3 separate regions of the Homo sapiens genome follow, and all the other regions are linked to region 1. Evidence: promoter capture Hi-C in 16 types of primary human blood cells and fetal thymus (Javierre and others, 2016). All regions are on one chromosome and are shown on one strand. The core of a region is centred on a gene start or on the middle of the fragment in contact, and the rest is flanking DNA. Distances in the headings are between cores, read along the strand shown.

Region 1 (2,950 bases), core at 371-2,870:
AAGATTTTCGAGATTCTGTCACTTTCAATATTGTGCAACATCAGATCATGACCAGCCTCTAAAGATGCTTTCCATGGACATAAGCCTGTTATCTTAATGGTTTCTCTCTCTCTCTCCCTTCTTCCTTTGAACCCAGACTTCCTGGGTTCAAGTCCTTACTAACTATAAAACTTATAGTAAGCTATTTAACCCCTCTCCACCTCAGTTTTCTCATTTATAGAATGGGGATGATAAAAGATATCTCATAAAACTATTGTAAGATCAAATGAGTGAATATGTTAAAGTGTCAGAAGATGGACTAGCACTCTGTAAGCTTTCATCGAATATTAGCTAAAACTACACATTCTGCCAGCCTCAAGTTTTCCTGCCAAGTCCCCTTAATGTTACAGCCTAAGTAAACAAATGACCTGAAGCCCGAAACACAAACCATAGCATGGCCAGCTATTACGCTACTGACAAGAAGAAGGAGGAGAAAAAGACAGTTTCCCAAGTCAGGATATAGGGAATCATGCCATTCTCCAGCCTACCTTTTCAACTCAGTCACCTCTACGCTGTCACATACGATGTCCACCCCCATTGCAGTCTCCCTGATGCCTTTGTCCATATTAAAAGTCCTTCATTGCATGTGACAGAAAGCTAGCACAAACTGCCTTGAGCAAAATAGAAAATGTATTGGGTCACTGTATTAGTTATCTGTTGCTGTGTAACAAATTGCCCCAAACTTCACAGCTAAAAACAATAAGCATTTTTGATGAAAAATAAAAAATTGAAAAAAAATTTAAAAACCAAACATTTATTATCTCACAGTTTCTCTTGATAAGGAATCTGGGCATGGCTTAGCTGGGTGCCTCTGGCTTAAGGTACTCACACAACTAACATCACGGTGTCAGCCAGGGCTGCAGTCATTTCAAGGACCTCCTGGGGAGGATCCACTTCCAGTCTCACTCATGTGATTCTTGGCTAGCCTCAGTCCTCATGGACAGTTGGCCAGAGGAATCAGCTCCTCGCCGATTGTTGGCTGGGGGCCTCCCTCTGTTCTTTGTTTTGGAACCCTCTCCCTAAAGTATCTCACAAAACAATACCTGGCTCCCCTCAGTGTAAGGTAGGGAGACAGAGATAGTGGGAAAGACAGAGAGGGAGAGAGGGCAAGAGAAAGAGAGAGCGCATATGCACACACATGCTAACCCAAGATGGAAGTCACAGCTTTTTTGTAACCTAATCTCAGAAGTGACCCATCCCACATCTCTGCCACATTCTATTCACTTGAAGCAAGTCACTAAATCCAGGCCACACTAAAGAAGAGGTGATTACACAGAGGCATGAATGCCAGGAGGTACAGATCTTTAGCAGTCACCTTTAGGAGCCAAATTTAGAACCCAAGTCCCTTGATGTCAAAGCAAGTGATGCTCCACATCAGTCACAAATGAGGCCCTGAATAGACTTGGGACCTCTACCTGCCTGCGCAGATGGGAGGAGTCTGTGGTGTTTTGTATAAACAACCCTCCCTCTGAGACACACACACATACACATACACATGCACACACACACTCATATACACATGCAGAAGCTGTGACACGTGCGGAAGCTGTGGTAAGTGCATCCTCCTTCAGTCTCAGTTCTGAAAATAGATCATCATGGTGGCACCAAAGAGTCACACAGATGACTGGGCTCCTGGGCCTTTCTCCAGTAAGCCACAGAGGAGTCAGCTGCAAATATTCTCTTCTGTTCTACAGACCTCTCTCCTCTTCCTGCTCATGGGTAAGTCCACTTTATGGCCACCACTTCTTGCTACTGCGGTTCTTCTGAGGCCAGTTGCATTCCCTGCCTGGGAGATTCTTTTTTTTGTTTTTTGTTTTTTTTAACGGAGTCTCACTCTGTTGCCAGGCTGGAGTGAAGTGGCGCAATCTCGGCTCACTGCAACCTCCACCTCCTGGGTTCAAGCGATTCTCCTACCTCAGCCTCTTGAGTAGCTGGGATTACAGGTGCATGCCAACACACCCAGCTAATCTTTGTATTTTTAGTAGGGGCAGGGTTTCACTATGTTGGCCACGGTGGTCTCGATCTCTTGACCTCGTGATCTGCCCAGCTCAGCCACCTGAAGTGCTGGGATTACAGGCGTGAGCCCAGTTCTTGTTGGTAAAATCGGGAAACTCATCTCCTTGCCAGAAATTACTTTGCATGTGTGCATATTCGTGCACTATGAAGGGGGTAACATTCTAGCCCCGGTCTCAAATAGCTCTGGGCTCAAACTACATTTCTCTTGCCCTCACATTTTCCTAAGAAATGCCAAGTATATAATGAGTTTGTTCCCTGTATGGTGTGGATAAAACCCACAGAGGGATCCAGGAAAATCCCCTGATGAGAAGCCACCTAGCAATTTCCTAGGGATGGAGAGAACTTCTGGAGCTTCTTTCTATGTATCCTGCCTTGGTTATCATATATGCTGGCTTTATTACTGAGGTTTCACTGGGGACCTGGACGCGGTTAGGTGACCATGGGCAAGGTGGCGTTTATCTGGATATCCTTTTCTCCTCAACCTTATTCCTCCCTATCAAGGCCCAACTCCTGGGAAACATCTCTCCGCTGCATGGCCCGGAACCCCACTGTCCAGCAGATAGAGCCAATCCAGTACCCCAGAGAGGATCTCAGCCACCTGGGACTGTGGCAGCTACTGTCCTTCTGTGCTCCCGCTTTCTCCAGGGCTTCAGGGATGATGGTGCAGGTAGCACTAGAGATCTGAGAGCAGTGGGGGTTGGCAGTTGGTGCCTGAAGGGAGCTTTAGAAACACTCCTAGATGCAGATATGGGTGAACGAGGAGCCTAGACCTCAGAGCTGAGGTCCAGTCTGACCTCTTTTCACTTTCAATTTTATCTTGGCTCATCAAAACACACAGAAAGCAGCAAGGCTGTTTATGTTTACCTCCAACCTTTGGGGTGTTCCTTGATTGTGT
Region 2 (2,900 bases), core at 287-2,786, 190 kb after region 1:
GGGATAGGCGGTGTAGTCAGGAGCAATTTTTTACAGGCAGGGGATGGATATTACAAAGTACATTCTCAAGGGTGGGGAGGATGTTACAAAGTACATTCACAAGGGCAGGGAGGGTGTATTGTCACAAGGGCAGGGAGGATGTATTGTCACAAGGGTGGGGAGGAATGTTACAAAGTACATTCACAAGGACAGGAGTATCACAAAGTACATTATCACAAGGGTGGGGGAATGTCACCGTGGCTTGACCATAGTGCAGCCAGCTCAGAGGACCTTACAAAAAGTTTCATACTTGCACGTGTTTTCTTGTGGCAAAAATATAAAACATTTAATTTCTGGGATTCTTTTTTTTTTTTTTTTTTTTTTGAGATGTAATCTCACTCTGTTGCCCAAGCTGGAATGCAATGGCGAGGACTCAGCTCACTGCAAACTCCGCCTCCCAGATTCAAGCAATTCTCCTGCCTCACCCTCCAGAGTAGCTGGGATTACAGGCGCCCACCACCACGCCTGGCTAATTTTTGTATTTTTAGTAGAGACAGGGTTTCACCATATTGGCCAGGCTGGTCTCGAACTCCTGACCTTGTGATTTGCCTGTCTCGGCCTCCCAAAGTGCTGGAATTGCAGGGTGAGCCACCACGCCTGGCTGGGATCATCTTTTTTTCTACAGAGAGAAAATCAATTGTATCTCTACCAGGCAAACAATTTGCATTTGTATTAATATGAACAGGGATCATTTGTATCACTGTCAGGCTTCTACATATTTAACTTTTCTTTCTAGAGTTGCAAAACAGTACAAGACAAGGAAGGATACTGACCTGTAGAGAATCAGAAAACCCCCAGAAGCATCCTGTCCTCTAGTCTAGACAAATCCTAGTAATCCACTGGAAGGATGCCTGTATTTGTCCATTTCAGAAACTGTCACAATTTTTCCTTAACTAACAGCAGGAATTTTGATAGCCAAAAGTCATATTGTTTATTATCACTGTGGGAGCCAAGGCCTTTGGCTCCCTGAAGTTTGCTGAAAATCACTGACGCAAGGCAGATTAATAGGAAAAAAGGCATACAAACTTATTTAATATGTATACATAGAAGCCTTCAGAATGAAGACCCAACCTCCCAGTGAGGTGCAAAAGCTTATACGCCATCATGAGGTTACAGAAAGAATGAGTTTGGATCCTGCGGGAGAAAAGGAATTCTGTTGATGGGCAATAAATGATTACTAAAGAGAATGATTTGATCAGGAAACAAATTAACTTGTAAATAGTTTTCTTTGGAATTTAGATGACCATGAGAAGCAGGCATTAACTCATGAAAAGGTCTGTTCAGGTGTGGTTACATTTTTGGTCTTACAGGAGGAAAAGAAACCTACTGTTCTCCTTGGAGGGTCTGGATCTTAGGCAAATAAAGGAACTTCAGCTTTTTGGGAGAGACCGTGTGGAGCGGGGAAGGTCAGAGAGATCTTCAGGTTGCTTCTTCGGTTCAGTACTATATTTGGGGGTATCGATTTATAAACCCCAACATTACCTAATGTATTGTTCCCGATGAGCCTCCCTCCAATCCCTTTTCCCCTGTATCCCAATGGCCGGAAACTTGTGGAAATTCTTCCCAAGGCCTCTAAAAGCAGCACTTGCTTTTGCCTGGTTGCTAATGCAAGTTGTGAATTGCGCACGTGAATCACTATCACTGTCCATCCACCACTCTCTTGCTCTAAGGCATTGAAACGGCACTGCAGAGAGACGCCAGGTAACAAAGACTCTCCTTAACCAAGCTCTAGCATGGCTTCTAGCAACTTAAGGCCTTGTCCCTAGGAGGACCTCAGCCCCCCGCTTAAAATGCCTGCCTGAAAAAGCTCATCGCTGTCAGAAAAATTTACTGTGCATCCCAGCCCAAACCTAGCAATAGACACAGGCCCCTGAACTTCATCTTAGTGCAATTACTTAGAAAGAAAGCTTGCAATTAAAACATCTTTCTCTGCCTCTTTGAGATGTAAATCTTCTACCCAGAGCTATTTTCACTGGGACCTGAGAGTTTCTTTGAAATGCAAACATTTGAGGAAATAAATCTTGCTCCAGCTCCCAACCAGGTGGGTGCCTTGCTCTAACTTGCACTACTAGCTCCTGTCGTAAAAATAGGTGCTTATTTCTCTTCTGGACAAGAGCCAATTCACAAATCCAGATTGTCTAGTCACATGGAGCAATTCTCCTTAATATCTTCATGCCTATCCCTTAGCACATCCCAGCCTTCAAAAGGCCTCCTGCATTTTTTTTTTTTTTAAGGAAGTTAAGTTCAGTTCACCTTGGGCCCTCTTCCCTACTGCAATAGTTACTACTTAAAAAAACCTATCCTAGGCCGGGTGCAGTGGCTCACGCCTGTAATCCCAACACTTTGGGAGGCCGAGGTGGGCAGATCACCTGGGGTCAAAAGTTCAAAACCAGCCTGACCAACATGGAGAAACGCTGTCTCCACTAAAAATACAAAAAAATTAGCCGGGCGTGGTGGTGCATGCCTGTAATCCCAGCTATTCAGGAGGCTGAGGCAGGAGAATCGCTTGAACCCCGGACACGGAGGTTGCGGTGAGCCAAGATCGCGCCATTACCCTCCAGCCTGGGCGACAAGAGTGAAACTCCATCTCAAATAAATAAATAAATACCTATCCTTACTTCTTGTCTAAACTATTGTCTGGCTTTGTTTAGCTTTGACACAGGCTTTATAAGCCCACAAGTAACTTTAAGGCAAAGCCTTATAAATTCATCCAAGGCACTGACATTGAAGAATGTCTAACATTTCTGTGATATGCTTCAATCTCACTTCCAGCCTGTTCCAAACCTTCTTTTTAGTTTTCTACTTCCAGAGACTTTTTCCTTTGGTTAATCACCTTGTAATTCTTAGGTCTGATTCTCGAG
Region 3 (2,872 bases), core at 320-2,819, 210 kb after region 1:
CCAGCCTCCTGAGTAGCTGGGATTACAGGCGCCCGCCACTACGCCTAGCTAGTTCTAACTAGTTTTTTGTATTATTATTATTATTTTTTTAAGATGGAGTTTTGTTCTAGTTGCCCAGACTGGAGTGCAGTGGCGCAATCTAGACTCACCACAACCTCCGCCTCCCAGGTTCAGGAGATTCTCCTGCCTCGGCCTCCCTAGTAGCTAGGATTACAGGCAGGCGCCACCATGCCCGGCTAATTTTGTATTTTTAGTAGAGATGGGGTTTCTCCATGTTGGTCAGGCTGGTCTCGAACTCCTGATCTCAGGTGATCCACCCGCCCTGGCCTCCCAAAATGCTGGGATTACAAGCGTGAGCCACCGCGCCCGGCAATTTTTTGTATTTTTAGTAGACAGGGTTTCACCATGTTGTCCAGGCTGGAATTTCTTTTTTTTAAAGAGCTGGGTTCTTGCTACATTGCCCAGGCTGGTCTAGAACTCCTGGTCTCAAGCAGTTCTCCTGCCTTGGCCTCCCAAAGTGCTGGGATTACAGATGTGAACCATCACGCCTGGCCATATAGCATGGTTTTCAAAAAAGAAGGGTATAGGCTGGGCACGGTAGGTCACACCTATAACCCCAGCACTTTGGGAGGCCAAAGAGGGCAGATCACTTGAGGTCAAGAGTTTGAGACCAGCCTGGCCAACGTGGCGAAACCTTATCGCTACTAAAAATACAAAAATTAGCCAGGCGTGGTGGCGCGTGCTACCTGGAAGGCTGAGCAAAGAGAATCACTTGAACCCGGGAGGCAGAGGTTGCAGTGAGCTGAGATTGTGACACTACATTCCAGCTTGGGCAACAAAGTGAGACTCCGTCTCAAAAAAAAAAAAAATTAACCAGGCATGGTGACACATGCCTGTAGCCCAGTAACTTGGGAGACTGAGGCAAAAGGACTACTTAAGCCAAAGAGTGGGAGGTTACAGTGAGCTACAATCACACCAATGCATTCCAGCCTGGGTGCCTGGGTGACAGAGCAAGACCCTGTCTCTAAAAAACATAAGAAAAGAAAACCGAGCTGTTTCTTAGAAAAACCATAGGTTTAATGAAAAAAAAACTAATAAAAATATTTCTAATGATATTATTTTATTTATATATTTGCCATTACATTTTTAATGTCAAATTTATGCTCAAATGTAATAATAGATATGGAGGCTGAGCACGGTAGCTCACACCTGTAATTCCAGCACTTTGGGAGGCCGAGGTGGGGAGACTGCTTGAGGGCAGGAGTTCGAGACCAGCTTGGCCAACGTGGCGAAATCTCGTCTCTAGTAAAAGTACAAAAACCAGCCAGGGGTGGTGGCACTAGCCTGTAATCCCAGCTACTCGGGAGGCTGAGGCAGGAGAATCACTGAACCCAGGAGGTGGAGGCTGAAGTGAGCCTAGATAGTGCCACTGCACTCCAGCCTGGGTGACAGAGCAAGACTCTGTCTCAAAAATAAAATAATAATAATAATAATAATAATAATAATAATAGATATGGAAATTAAACCAAATAGCTTTTATTAAATTGAAAATTCTTCCTGAGGACACATAAGTCTCCTCCCTTCCTCCCTCCTTCCTCCTTCCCCTCCCTCCCCTACCTCCCCTATCTCCTCCCTCCTTTCTCACTCTGTTGCCCCGGCTAGAGTTCAGTGGCACCATTATGGCTTACTGCTTAGGGCCCAGTGTTGGCCTGCTGGGCTCAAGTGACCCACCTCAGCCTCCTAAGTAGTTGGGACTACAGGCCTCTGTCTCCCGGGTTCCAGCAATTCTCCTGCCTCAGCCTCCTGAGTAGCTGGGATTACAAGCACGAGCCACCATGCCTGGCTAATTTTTTGTATTTTTAGCAGAAACAAGGTTTCATCATGTTGGCCAGGCTGGTCTCAAACTCCTGACCTCAAGTGATCCACCCGCTTCGGCCTCCCAAAGTGCTGGGATTATAGGCCTGAGCTACCGCACCTGGCCTGCCCAGCTAACTTTTACAATTTTTTTGTAGAGACCAGGTCCCACTATGTTACCCAGGCTGGTCTCAAATTCCTGAGCTCAAGCAATTCTCCTGCCTTGGCCTCCCAAAGTGCTAGGATTACAGGCGTGAGCCACCATGGCTGTGGAAGTCTCTTACTCAACTCTCATTAAGAATGCTAATAGGCTGGGCATGGCAGCTCAACAGCCTGTAATCCCAGCACTTTGGGAGGCTGAGGCGGGCAGGTCACCTGAGGTCAGGAGTTTGAAACCAGCCTGGCCAATATGGCGAAACCCCATCTCTACTAAAATACAAAAATTAGCCGGGCATGGTGGCGGGCAACGGTAATCCCAACTACTTGGGAGGCTGAGGCAGGACAATCACTTGAACCCGGGAGGCGAAGGTTGCCGTGAGCCAAGATCGCACCACTGCACTCCAGCCTGGGTAACACAGTGAGACTCCATCTCAAAAAAAAAAGGGGGGGGGCACTTCTGTTCCAAAGTGTTCCAAAGCTGTCTGTGGGATAGGCTGAGGCCTCACCAAGACTATAACGCAAACTTGGCCTCTCCCTCTGTCCAACTTTGCTTCCTTCCCCTCCTTTCCACGGGCGTGGATCCCAAGTGCACTCCCTAATAAATGTCTTGTATGATTATTGACATCTCAGAGTCAGCTTCCCAAGAACCCAACCTATGGCACCACCCAAATGAACAGCAGCATCTAATTAGACTAAAAACTAGCCTTTGAAATAAACACACATATACACACAAATCACAACATGTGAATTTGATGGTTGTTCCTCCACCACTTCTGGTTTAGCTAAAGTTCTTTGTTGAGTCCTCTCAGATCATCACATTCACACCACACATATACAAACACGTTGGGCTACAGGCATA

Evidence for each region. The method cuts DNA at HindIII sites, captures the fragments that hold promoters and counts their contacts. A CHiCAGO score of 5 or more calls a contact.
Region 2: a fragment that was not itself captured here is called in contact with the fragment with the promoter of LY9 in region 1 in 11 of 17 cell types (megakaryocytes, M1 macrophages, naive CD8 T cells and 8 more); the score reaches 10.8 in megakaryocytes.
Region 3: a contact is called between a fragment that was not itself captured here and the fragment with the promoter of LY9 in region 1, in 1 of 17 cell types (total CD8 T cells). The highest score is 5.6, in total CD8 T cells.

What each region holds. Positions count from the first base shown.
Region 1 is chr1:160,794,554-160,797,503 of GRCh38, forward strand. It overlaps LY9 (lymphocyte antigen 9), which reads left to right and starts at 1,621. Exons shown (of 10, transcript NM_002348.4): 1 at 1,621-1,758. The coding sequence starts at 1,635. The HindIII fragment of the contact is 6,680 bases long and covers 312-2,950 here.
Region 2 is chr1:160,985,817-160,988,716 of GRCh38, forward strand. No RefSeq gene overlaps it. Among named protein-coding and RNA genes, the nearest start is that of ITLN2, 32 kb to the left of the region's middle. RefSeq lists a silencer at 1,583-1,877. The HindIII fragment of the contact is 816 bases long and covers 1,129-1,944 here.
Region 3 is chr1:161,003,692-161,006,563 of GRCh38, forward strand. The region is part of intron 1 of F11R (F11 receptor); the gene reads right to left. Among named protein-coding and RNA genes, the nearest start is that of F11R, 16 kb to the right of the region's middle. RefSeq lists enhancers at 2,300-2,809, 2,810-2,872. The HindIII fragment of the contact is 7,142 bases long and covers 1-2,872 here.